4 separate regions of the Homo sapiens genome follow, and all the other regions are linked to region 3. The links are contacts of gene promoters, found by promoter capture Hi-C in human tissues and cell types (Jung and others, 2019). All regions are on one chromosome and are shown on one strand. The core of a region is centred on a gene start or on the middle of the fragment in contact, and the rest is flanking DNA. Distances in the headings are between cores, read along the strand shown.

Region 1 (2,700 bases), core at 119-2,618, 840 kb after region 3:
TCAAGTGATTCTCCTGCCTCAGCCTCCCAGGTAGCTGGGATTACAGGCCCCTGCCACCACACCTGGCTAATTTTTTGTATTTTTAGTGGAGATGGGGTTTCCCCATGTTGGCCAGGCTGGTCTCAAACTCCTGACCTCAGGTGATCCACCTGCCTCAGCCTCCCAAAGTGCTGGGATTACAGGCGTGAGCCACTGCGCCTGGCCAGAAATGAAGAGCACTCAATGATCATTTTTTAATCTTGTTAAATAAGGAGAATCACCTCTATATTATACTGGATTTTATTGTGCTTTTTGTTTAGTTTTGTTGGTTTAACGGTGTTGTTCCTTAAGATGTTGACTTGTTTCCTATAAATTAAAATAGTAACTCAGTTTAACCTGTACTTAATGGTATTAAGTGTAGTGCGGATGTCAGTTTCAGCATCCTTGATGTCTGCATGGGATAGCATTTCACAGGAGTCAGTCAGAGGTAGATGCTAGAGAGGTCACTGTGTGCTCTTAGTAGATACTGGTCTGTCAGAATAGGGTGGACCTCCATTAAGCCTTACAGATTGGTCCTGGATGTTTCTGGGTTAAAATGAAGAATGTGATAAGATGATTTGGTGACCAAGTGTGGGCTGCAGGGAACAAAGAGAGAACATCTGCTGGCTGCTCCAGGGTCTGCCTTGGGAGTGGTGGACCTGAAGCTAATTTGACTTGATGTGTAGTCTTATTGACGGCAGGGACCATGAATTAACTTTTTTGTGTCTTAACACATTGCTTATAGTAAGTTCAGTTATGCTTTGTTGAATGAACGAGAAATAGGCATGTGTACCCACACACAGAAGTCTAGTTTAGTTCTGAAAGTAGACGAATATAAAAGTGAAACTTTGGCCAGGTGCGGTGGCTCACGCCTGTAATCCTAGCACTTTAGGAGGCCAAAGCGGGTGGGTCACAAGGTCAGGAGTTCGAGACCAGCTTAACCAATATGCTGAAAACCCGTCTCTACTAAAAATACAAAAATTAGCCAGGAGTGGTGGTGGGCGCCTGTAATCCCAGCTACTCAGGAGGCTGAGGCAGGAGAATTGCTTGAACCCAGCAGGCGGAGGTTGCAGTGAGCCGAGATCGCGCCACTGCACTCCAGCCTGGGCAACACAGCAAGACTCCGTCTTGAAAAATAAATAAATTAATTAACTAATAAAACTTATGAAAGGCATGTCATTTAACACCAGCCTTATGGATCAGCAAAAACACAAAGATTTTTGTCTTCTGTTTTGTTCAGGTGGCAGGAGTAGTTGATACAAAAATTATTGCTACGTATCTGTGATGTACCAGGTACCTTTCCTGCATTTTATCTTCATGACAATCTCTTTTCCCAGAGAAGAGAATGAGGCTCAGAGAGGGTAGTTAACCCGGTTAAGATTGGTACTAATGTGTTCACAGAATGCTGACTGTTCAATATCTGACCTGTAGAATCAACCCATTGCCACGGAAGAAAAGTCAAAGAAATTCAAGAAGAAGCAACAGGGAAAGCGCAGGACCCAGGGTGAAATCACAAAGGAGCGAGAAGATGAGTGTTTTAGTTGTGGGGATGCTGGCCAGCTCGTCTCCTGCAAGAAACCAGGCTGCCCAAAAGTTTACCACGCAGACTGTCTCAATCTGACCAAGCGACCAGCAGGTTGGTGCCAAAATCCATTTGTACCGCTACTCGTTCTCTCCATCATACTCAGGGTCTCATGCCATTTGCATCAGCCTTGAAGAAAGTGCCATTTGGTCTTTCCATGCATAATTTTGAGGGGTATGGTCTATTTTCTTATTTTGGAAATAATGAAAGCAAAGGCTTAGAATTCTTAGTTATGAAGAATGGGACAGCGGTGCACTTGCTGTGTTTCAGGTCCTTTACTTACAGTCATGTTTATTTCATTCCCCCAGCAGCCCATAATGGTTGGTTTTCTTCCATAATGCATGTGAAGAAACAGAGTGAGGATTGGGGAGGTGATCTTTCACACATAGATAGAGGAGCTGGATTGAGAGCTGGGTTTTTGACTCCAAGACTATTAAATCATGTTGCCTTTCTAGAGAAAGAAAGATTGAGATAGTAAAGCCTTTAGGTGGTTCTAGTCAGTGAGAGATGGATTGCCACCCTTTTAGCACTTCCTACCTTGCTCCCCTACGCCTAGTGCAGTCTCCCCCCATGCAGAGTAGACTTTTTTCCTCTAAAGGAGATTTGGTTGTATCAGTTAATACATGAGAAAGCTGCTCAGGTGGATGTGGTACCCAGGAAATTTGTAGTTGAAGAAATTGAGAACCTTTGAGTAGTGATTTGGGGTTAGAGAATTTTAGGGATTTGGATATGCCATCTATTTTAATGAACAAAAAAGAGAAACCAGTAGGGAGCCATTCCAGGGTGAGGAGATTATACATTACTAGTGACCTGCTTCCAAGAGTTGCAGAACGTTAAGAACTTTAGGGTATAAGTAAAAGGAATTTGTCCCCAAATTGGCTTTCCTTCACTGTATATTGGCCAGGGTCATGAAATAAAAGAAACTGAGGTAGGATGAGGGCAAGGCCATCACATTGACCTGTCAGCACCAGGAAGTAGAATTGTTTCAGAATCAACTGCTCAGGGTCGTCACTGGCGCAGGCTATGATAGAACCAATCTTGCCTGTGTGCCAGGAGTGGGAGCTGGTGTAGTTGATTTGAAGGTGGAAACACTGTCCCTG
Region 2 (2,700 bases), core at 117-2,616, 690 kb after region 3:
GGCGCCCGCTGCCCGAGCCCCCGTGCCAGGCCCAGACCTTGACTAGGCGCGGGAGGCGGTGCAGGGACTAGAGGACCCCCTCCCCCGGCGTTCCCCTCGCCCCGCCCGAGGCTGCGAGGACCCCTGGGCTCGGGGGTGGTGAGGGAGCTTCGTCCCGGCTGGGCCCGGGCTGGGGACTCGGCCTCCCTGGGCGGGGGCCGCACGGCTGCAGGCCGAGGTGCGGACGCGCTGTCAGGCTGCAGCCCGGCTCGGTGCCGGGGGTGGGCTCAGCGCTGGGGTCGCCTGGCTTCGTTCCCCCGCGGAGGCCACGGCCGGGCGAGCAGTGCCGGGGCGGGTAACCCGACCCGGCTCCCCAGAGCCGCTCACCCCGCACGGCCCGGCAAGGGGAGGGAGAGGGATGGGGGGAGGGGGAAGGGAAGGGGTGGTGGGTGAGGGGCTGTGGGCACCGCAGGGCCGAGTCCCCGGCCCGTCTGCGCTGCTGTAGGGCGGCTGCCCGCGGCACCCGGGACGATCCAGCCTCTGCCTCGCGGGCGTCGAGCCTGAGACAGGAGGGAGCCCTGGGGCTGCACAGGCTTGGCTCAGGGAGGCAGACCCGAGCTGCTGCCTCCATTTTGTTTCCTGCTCAGCTTGGTCTGTGGTGGTGGTGGTGGTGGTGGTGTGGGTTTGGGGTGCGGCCGGGTAGGGGGTTCGCCTGCGGCCGCGTCTGCTCGGGGCCTGAGGCCTCGAAGACCCCAGCCCAAGCCCCCAGGTGAGCCCTGCGGCAGGAGGGGGGTTGCCTTGGCCTCGGGCCGAACCCAGCGGGCTGAGGGCAGGTGCCCAGTGGATGGGGAGCCTGGGCTGTAACCTAAGATGGAGGCCGGGACTGACGCGGGCCCGAGCAGGGCTGGCGGGACGATCGGACAGGCCTCAGCCGCGCCAGGTGCCGCCTGGGTTGGGGTTCGAGACGCGTAGGGTGCGGGAGCCGTGTGCGGCCCGAGGCCAGCGCCGTGCCCCGAGGTAGGTGAGGGGATCGGAATGCCACCCACGACGCCCGCAGGCCCCGACACTCCAAGGAGGCGCGCGAGGCCCCTGGGGAGCCCGCCTCAGGCCCCGCCCGGGCAGCCGGGCCGGCCCGTAGGCCCCGGCCGCGAGCGGGCGCGCAGGGGGAGGGGAGGGGGCGGCAGCGGCAGCTCCGCTGATTGGGCGGCGCTCTCACAAGCCCGACTTCACCCGCCCTGAACCCCGAAGAGTGAGAGAAGGGAACGCGCGCGCTCGGTGGGGGAAGGGGTGCGCGCGCACTCGGGGCCCAGCCGCACGCGGGCCGGCGCGAGGCGCTCGGTCGCACGCGCGGCCGCGGGGGCGCGCGCGGTGGGGGTGTGAGGAGGAGGAGGCGGCGGCGGAATAGGCCGGGGCAGGTCGCGCTCGCTGCCTTCTCCCCTGAAGAGAGACGCGGGGGGAGGGGGGTGCGGCGAGCGGCCCCGCTCTCTCCCCACCGCTCCGCTCGCACCCCAGTGTAATGAGGGTCACCCCCTCCCCCCAGCTGGCCCGGGAGGGGGCGCGGGGCACGGTAACTAGTGCGCTGGGGTGGGCGGCGGGCAGGCGCGAGGAGAAGGGAGGGAGGAGGGTGGCCGGGCGGGGAAGATGGTGGTGGCCGTAAGGTGAGGGGCTCGGGGGAGGGCCAGGCGCGATGCGGGGTTGGTGGCCGGCGGCGCTGCAGCCGCCGGCCTCCTCCCCCTCCCCCTCCTCCATCACTACCAGCCGGGCTCAGGCCTAGCTGGCCGGGCTGCCGCGAACTTCCTCCCGGCGCGGCCCGTGCCCCGCCGGCCGCCTGCGAACACCTCGGCCTCCGCCTCCCCTCAGGTAGCAGGCTGCGGGGCGCGGGGCCGGCTGCCCTCCCGCAGCAAACTTTGCTTGCTGCTGAATATTGATGAGAGCGATCGGCTCGGCTGGGAGGTGCTGCCGCGGCTGCGGGAAGGAGCGCGGCCCGGGCAGGCGGCGGCGGCGTCGGCAGCAGCCATGTTTTTCGAGCTGTAGCAGCTGCTGCTACCCTGACTGGGCTTCGCTGGCCGCCTCGGTTTCTCCCTCTGCCGGGTCCAGGCCTCTTCGCCCTGCAGCTGCGGATCCAGCAGGCCTGCATTCAGGAAGGCGAGCTCTGGGGTGCAGCCGCCTCGGCCGGCTCGCCTGCGGCCTGCGCACCGCCGCTGCAAAGGCTCCGGCGCTGGCTGGGCGCAGGGTGCAGCGCTATTGTGACCGCTGCGCCCTAGCGAGCCAGGAAGGGGGGGGTACCTTTTTGTGCAGGGTCCAGGAGCCCCCCTCGGACCCCGCAGCCTTTTGCTTTTGAGAGATCCAGCTGCTCGACCCCTGGCGAGGGAGGGGGAGGACTAGTCCTGTTTGAGAATTGGGAATTTTGACGGGCAGAGGGGTTTTAATTTTAGTTCATCCCAAGTGTCCACCAGTCTACAGAGGAGGAAAAAGAGACGGGCTGTTTCTATGTAGCAGGATCGGCCCAGCTTCGGGAAAATGGAGTTTTCAGAGGCTCATCGAGGCCATTTTTTCATCTCCAGTCGGGGGAACTTTTTCTGCCCATGGAAGTGCAGCAGAAAGGCATAGAGGCCACTAGGCCTTGAAGTGGCTGCCATTTTAAAGAGTCGAGTCAGATGGCCTATTAACTCAGATTAATTGCTGTGCTTTTGGATTCCAGGTTGATGCCGGCCCAGGATG
Region 3 (2,700 bases), core at 29-2,528:
AGCCAAAATTTCATGTACTCTTCACAGAACCAGCTCTCAAAGCCTTTTCTGTCTCACCGGATCAACCCTGCAAGGGGACGAGGGTGGGGCGCAGGCGGCCGAGAGCCTTGCTGAGAATCACACAGGTGGTCAGTGGAAAAGCGTGTACCAGACCCAGGCCTCTCTGGAAGGTGGGCAGAGGAGGCGTTCGGCGGGAGAGGTGGAAATGAAAACGGGAAATCTAAAGAGAGGTGGCGGACTAGAAGGGGCAAGGGACGTGCAGAGGAAGATAGAGATTGAGGGGTGGTGATAGGGTAGTGTAAGCAGCAGAAGGGAAGGGCAGGGGACTGCCTCGAGGAGAAGGGGCGGCGGCAGCACGTCAGGGGCTTTTGGGGAATCTCATTCAACAAATGGCAAAATGGAGCCCAAGTGGTTTGCCCAAGGATGTCCAGCAGTTGGCAAGGTGGCAACTAGAACCCGCGTCTCCTAATCCCGGTCCAGGGATCTTTCTTCGCCTGTCACAGAGACAAGGGGCCAGTGCAGCGCTAGTGCGGAGAGACAAGGCTCCAGGCACGGAAAAGCAGATGCCGGGCCGGGGTTCCAGCGCCGCAGTCACGGCGGTGGACGGCAAGCTGTGCGGACGACTGGGGGCGCCATGAATGGTCGAGGATCCGGGGAGCCGAGTCCAGATCTTCCTGCAAGTGACCCCGAAGCGGCAATGGAACGGTGGCCGAAGTCTGCCCACAGCTTCCGCTTCGAAGGCGGCGTCGGAAATGCCGCGCCAGTATCCAGAGCCCTTCGGAACCTCCCGAGAGATGGTCAGGAGCTTTTGGAAACTTTAGGTCAGGGGCCAGCGACCAAAAGGCTGGTATTTCGGAACGGCTGCGTCTCCCGAGAAACCTCCAAGAGTATCTGAGGTTGCCGGAAAATGGTTAGAGAGCAGCCGAAATCAGCCGAATGCCATTCGGGATGCTCCGGAGCTTCTCGAGGCACATTCGGGCCCTCTCGGCTCTGCAAGACTGCACTGGAATCTTAGGTCTCCTTTCGTCGCCTAATCTTAGCAGATCCTTTCGTCGCCTAAATGGTAAGAGCGACTTGTACCGACAGTCCCTCGGCAATTTCCGGAAGTGTTCGGGATAGGCCCGAGCGTGGCGCCCTCTGGCGGCGGCCAGAGGTGGCGGGGGGCGGGGGGAGGTTAGTGGGCCAGCGCGCGCAGACGCAGTTGCGCGCCGGCGGCCGTTCAGACCGGATGTGGTTGTGGCTGAGGTCAGTTCCGGCGGGTGACGGTGCGGACGGGTCAGGAGCGTAGAGGCGGCGGCAAAATGGCGGCGCCTGAGGAGCGGGATCTAACCCAGGAGCAGACAGAGAAGCTGCTGCAGTTTCAGGTAGCAGCGAGTACTCGGTGCAGCAGATGCCTCCGTGGGATGGGGAGTAGGCCCCTAGAGGAGTTCAGAACCCTCCTCAGATTGGGTTCAGATCCTTCTCAGACCAGCAGGCCGGCCCCCTCCCCCCCAGACTCCAACTGCCCTGATTCCCCCGGCCCCCAAGCCTCTGTTGGACCCTAGCCTTCCAGCCATCGCTGCGGGCAGACCCGCCTCGTCTGTGCCTCTGTGCCCTCAGCGTGTCAGCTTCCCTGGTTTGCCTTAGCGGCGTCAGTCCTCAGCCATCCTTCCCAGCCCGGTTATCGGTCGGACCCTCTCCGCCCAACGAGTCTATATCTGCCGGAGAAGCTTAGTCCCCACCGCGGAGTTGGCGTCATTTCGGGTCTCTGACAGGAAAACCTCCTGCCAGCATCCCATGCCATTTCCACATACACTCCCACAAACTGGGGCCTCTTGGATACCAGGTTTCGTGTTGGGGGTTCCGGTCGGGGAGGGGGCACCTACACACAGATCTGGTCCCCGCCCTAGAGGTGTGGGAGGACACCAAGTGAGGAAACAATGCAAGATGATAAGTGTCATCAGTGGTCTGTCGGGATTTATTACTTTTGGCTTATTCCTGGATTCCTGTGCTTAACTATGCTTGAGGAGGGTGGTAACTTGCAGAAATGTTATGTTAATACAAGATGTTGTATTAAGAACATTTGCCACTGATCACTTACCCCTGAGCTGGAGAATGGTTGGAGGATACCACTAGGGTGGGTAACCTTGGCACTTTGTTACCAGTTTCCTTATCTCTGAAAGGACTGTCTTAAAAATGTCTACCCCCAGGCCAGGAGCGGTGGCTCACGCCTGTAATCCCAGCACTTTGGGAGGCCAAGGCCAGCGAATCACGAGGTCAGGAGTTCGAGACCACTCTGGCCAATATGGTGAAACCCCGTCTCTACTAAAAATACAAATATTAGCCGGGCGTGGTGGTGCACGCCTGTGGTCCCAGCTACTCGGGAGGCTAAGGCAGGAGACTCGCTTGAACCCGGGAGGCGGAGGTTGCAGTGAGCCGAGATCGTGCCACTGCACTCCAGCCTGGGCAACAAGAGTGAAACTCCGTCTCAAAAAAAAAAAAATCTACCTCCTGAGGATGTTCGGGAGATCAAATGGACATATGGATGTTAGAAGGGCCTTGTAGACTGCAAAATGCCCCCAAATAGTATTTTCTGCTATTAATTTGACTTAGGATAGACCTAAAGTTATTGATACACTTATTTCCTTATATAAAATGTGTAAATATTCATTTATTCAACTATATGAAGAACCTTAGTGCGCAGCGCTGCTAGGTAGAATC
Region 4 (2,700 bases), core at 35-2,534, 540 kb after region 3:
TAGATGATTCAAATAGTTCCAAAATGCCACTTTGGATTACTATATTATAAAACTGAAGAACTATGATCCATCCTCAACCAAGCAACAGGATTACTACCTTAAGTAATTCTTCATTCCATTTACAAATTAAAACAAAGCTGAGTAAAAATTTCATGGTTTTGGTGAGCTGGCATTAAGGTGAAGTCAGTCACGAAACAAACTCCCCATGGGTAAAGAAGCATAGTTTGAGAGCTACAGCTCTACTTTTCAGCTCTACTTCACTAACCTCTCCATCACTATCGGATATCACAATGAATGCATCCTCAAGTCTACGCTTCCTCTTCACACTGACAGAACTGGTAGTTTCCACATCCTTCTTCTCCAGGTTCCGAGATTCGGAGACTTCTTTAACTTTTTTCTTTCTCCGTGGCATCCTTTTGTCTAGAATAAAAGGACAATAATTTTGTCTAGAATAAAAAGATCATAATTTACTTAAAGTATAAGTTTTCTAGAAGCTATTCAACTTAGTCTTTTTTTGAGATGGTCTCGCTTTGTTGCCCAGGCTGGAGTGCAATGGCACGATCTTGGCTCACTGCAACCGCTGCCTCCCAGGTTCAAGCAATCCTCCTGCCTCAGCCTCCCGAGTAGCTGGGACCACAGGCACACGCCACCACACTGGCTAATTTTTGCATTTTTAGTACAGACAGAGTTTCACCATGTTGGCCAGGCTGGTCTCAAACTCCTCACTTCAGGTGATCCACCCGTGTCAGCCTCCCATAGTGCTGAGATTACAGACATGAGCCACCACATCCAGCCTAATTTTTGTATTTTTGTAGAGACTGGGTTTCACCATGTTGGCCAGGCTGGTATTGAACTCCTGACCTCAGGTCATCTGCCCGCCTTGGCCTCCCAAAGTGTTGGGGTTACAGGAGTGAGCCACCATGCCCAGCCTCAATTTAATCTTGTAAAAGAAAAAGATAACCCTATCTAACAGAAGCAAAACTGCATTTCTTAACTTGTCTACTACTCATTAAAAATATAGCCCTCTCCCTCTCCCCCTCCCCCTCCTCCTCTCCCTCCTTTCTTCAGTCTCCCTCTGTTGCTGATACTGCCACGATCTTGGCTCGCTGCAACCTCCCTGCCTCAGGCTCCCGTGATTCTCCTGCCTCGGCCTGCCAAGTGCCTGGGATTCCAGGCACGCACCGCCACTCCTGACTGGTTTTTGTATTTTTGGTGGAGACCGGGTTTCGCCATGTTGACCGGGCTGGTCTCCAGCTCCTGGCCTCGGGTGATCTGCCCGCCTCGGCCTCCCGAGGTGCTGGGATTGCAGACGGAGTCTCGCTCACTCAATGCTCAATGTTGCCCAGGCTGGAGTGCAGTGGCATGATCTCGGCTCGCTACAACCTCCACCTCCCAGCCGCCTGCCTTGGCCTCCCAAAGTGCTAAGATTACAGCCTCTGCCCGCCCGCCACCCCATCTAAGAAGTGAGCAGTGTCTCTGCCTGGCTGCCCATCGTCTAGGATGTGAGGAGCCCCTCTGCCCGGCCACCCCGTCTGGGAAGTCAGGAGCGCCTCTACCCGGCCGCCACCCCGTCTAGGAAGTGAGGAGCCCCTGCCTGGCCGCCCATCGTCTTGGATGTGAGGAGCGCCTCTGCCCGGCTGCCCCGTCTGGGAGGAAGTGAGGAGTGCCTCTGCCCGGCCGCCACCCCATCTGGGATGTGAGGAGCACCTCTGCCCGGCCACCCCATCTGGGAAGTGAGGAGTGCCTCTGCCCAGCCGCCCCGTCTGGGAGGAAGTGAGGAGCGCCTCTGCCCGGCCGCCCCGTCTGGGAAGTGAGGAGCGCCTCTGCCCGGCCGCCCCGTCTGGGAAGTGAGGAGTGCCTCTGCCCGGCCGCCCCGTCTGGGAAGTGAGGAGTGCCTCTGCCCGGCCGCCCTGTCTGGAAAGTGAGGAGTGCCTCTGCCCGGCCGCCCTGTCTGGGAAGTGAGGAGCGCCTCTGCCCGGCCGCCCCGAATGGGAAGTGAGGAGCGCCTCTGCCCGGCCGCCCCATCTGGAAAGTGAGGAGTGCCTCTGCCCGGCCGGCCCATCTGGGATGTGAGGAGCGCCTCTGCCGGCCGCCACCCCGTCTGGGAAATGGGGAGTGCCTCTGCCCGGCCGCCCCGTCTGGGAAGTGAGGAGTGCCTCTGCCCGGCCTCCCCGTCTGGGAAGTGAGGAGTGCCTCTGCCCGGCCGCCACCCCGTCTGGGAAGTGGGGAGCGCCTCTGCCCGGCTGCCTATCGTCTGGGATGTGAGGAGCGCCTCTGCCTGGCCGCCCCATCTAGGAGTGAGGAGTGCCTCTGCCTGGCCGCCCCATCTAGGAGTGAGGAGTGCCTCTGCCCGGCCGCCCCATCTGGGAGGTGTACCCAACAGCTCCGAAGAGACAGCGACCAACGAGAACAGGCCATGATGACGATGGCGGTTTTGTCAAAAAGAAAAGGGGGAAATGTGGGGAAAAGAAAGAGAGATCAGGTTGTTACTGTGCCTGTGTAGAAAGAAGTAGACATAGGAGACTCCATTTTGTTCTGTACTAAGAAAAATTCTTCTGCCTTGGGATGCTGTTAATCTATAACCTTACCCCCAACCCCGTGCTCTCTGAAACATGTGCTGTGTCAACTCAGGGTTAAATGGATTAAGGGCAGTGCAAGATGTGCTTTGTTAAAAAGATGCTTGAAGGCAGCATGCTTGTT

Evidence for each region. The method cuts DNA at HindIII sites, captures the fragments that hold promoters and counts their contacts. A contact is called where the count stands out against the background at its distance.
Region 1: a fragment that was not itself captured here is called in contact with the fragment with the promoter of FAF2 in region 3 in 1 of the 25 tissues and cell types used here (hippocampus).
Region 2: a contact is called between the fragment with the promoter of NSD1 here and the fragment with the promoter of FAF2 in region 3, in 1 of the 25 tissues and cell types used here (hippocampus).
Region 4: a contact is called between a fragment that was not itself captured here and the fragment with the promoter of FAF2 in region 3, in 1 of the 25 tissues and cell types used here (lymphoblastoid cells).

What each region holds. Positions count from the first base shown.
Region 1 is chr5:177,290,505-177,293,204 of GRCh38, forward strand. NSD1 (nuclear receptor binding SET domain protein 1) reads left to right here. Exons shown (of 23, transcript NM_022455.5): 22 at 1,450-1,654. Among named protein-coding and RNA genes, the nearest start is that of RAB24, 12 kb to the right of the region's middle. The HindIII fragment of the contact is 5,839 bases long and covers 1-2,700 here.
Region 2 is chr5:177,132,407-177,135,106 of GRCh38, forward strand. NSD1 (nuclear receptor binding SET domain protein 1) reads left to right here and starts at 1,367. Exons shown (of 23, transcript NM_022455.5): 1 at 1,367-1,546; 2 at 2,681-2,700. The coding sequence starts at 2,698. RefSeq lists enhancers at 358-909, 402-696, 910-1,463, 1,464-2,015, 2,016-2,569 and silencers at 733-1,402, 1,483-1,642, 1,703-2,002. The HindIII fragment of the contact is 15,853 bases long and covers 1-2,700 here.
Region 3 is chr5:176,447,107-176,449,806 of GRCh38, forward strand. FAF2 (Fas associated factor family member 2) reads left to right here and starts at 1,279. Exons shown (of 11, transcript NM_014613.3): 1 at 1,279-1,364. The coding sequence starts at 1,302. RefSeq lists enhancers at 660-849, 930-989, 1,300-1,359 and a silencer at 1,170-1,219. The HindIII fragment of the contact is 18,873 bases long and covers 1-2,700 here.
Region 4 is chr5:176,982,204-176,984,903 of GRCh38, forward strand. UIMC1 (ubiquitin interaction motif containing 1) reads right to left here. Exons shown (of 15, transcript NM_001199298.2): 2 at 266-420. The coding sequence starts at 412. It overlaps LOC124901145 (a long non-coding RNA gene), which reads right to left and starts at 259. Exons shown (of 2, transcript XR_007059073.1): 1 at 1-259. RefSeq lists a silencer at 2,552-2,700. The HindIII fragment of the contact is 7,476 bases long and covers 1-2,700 here.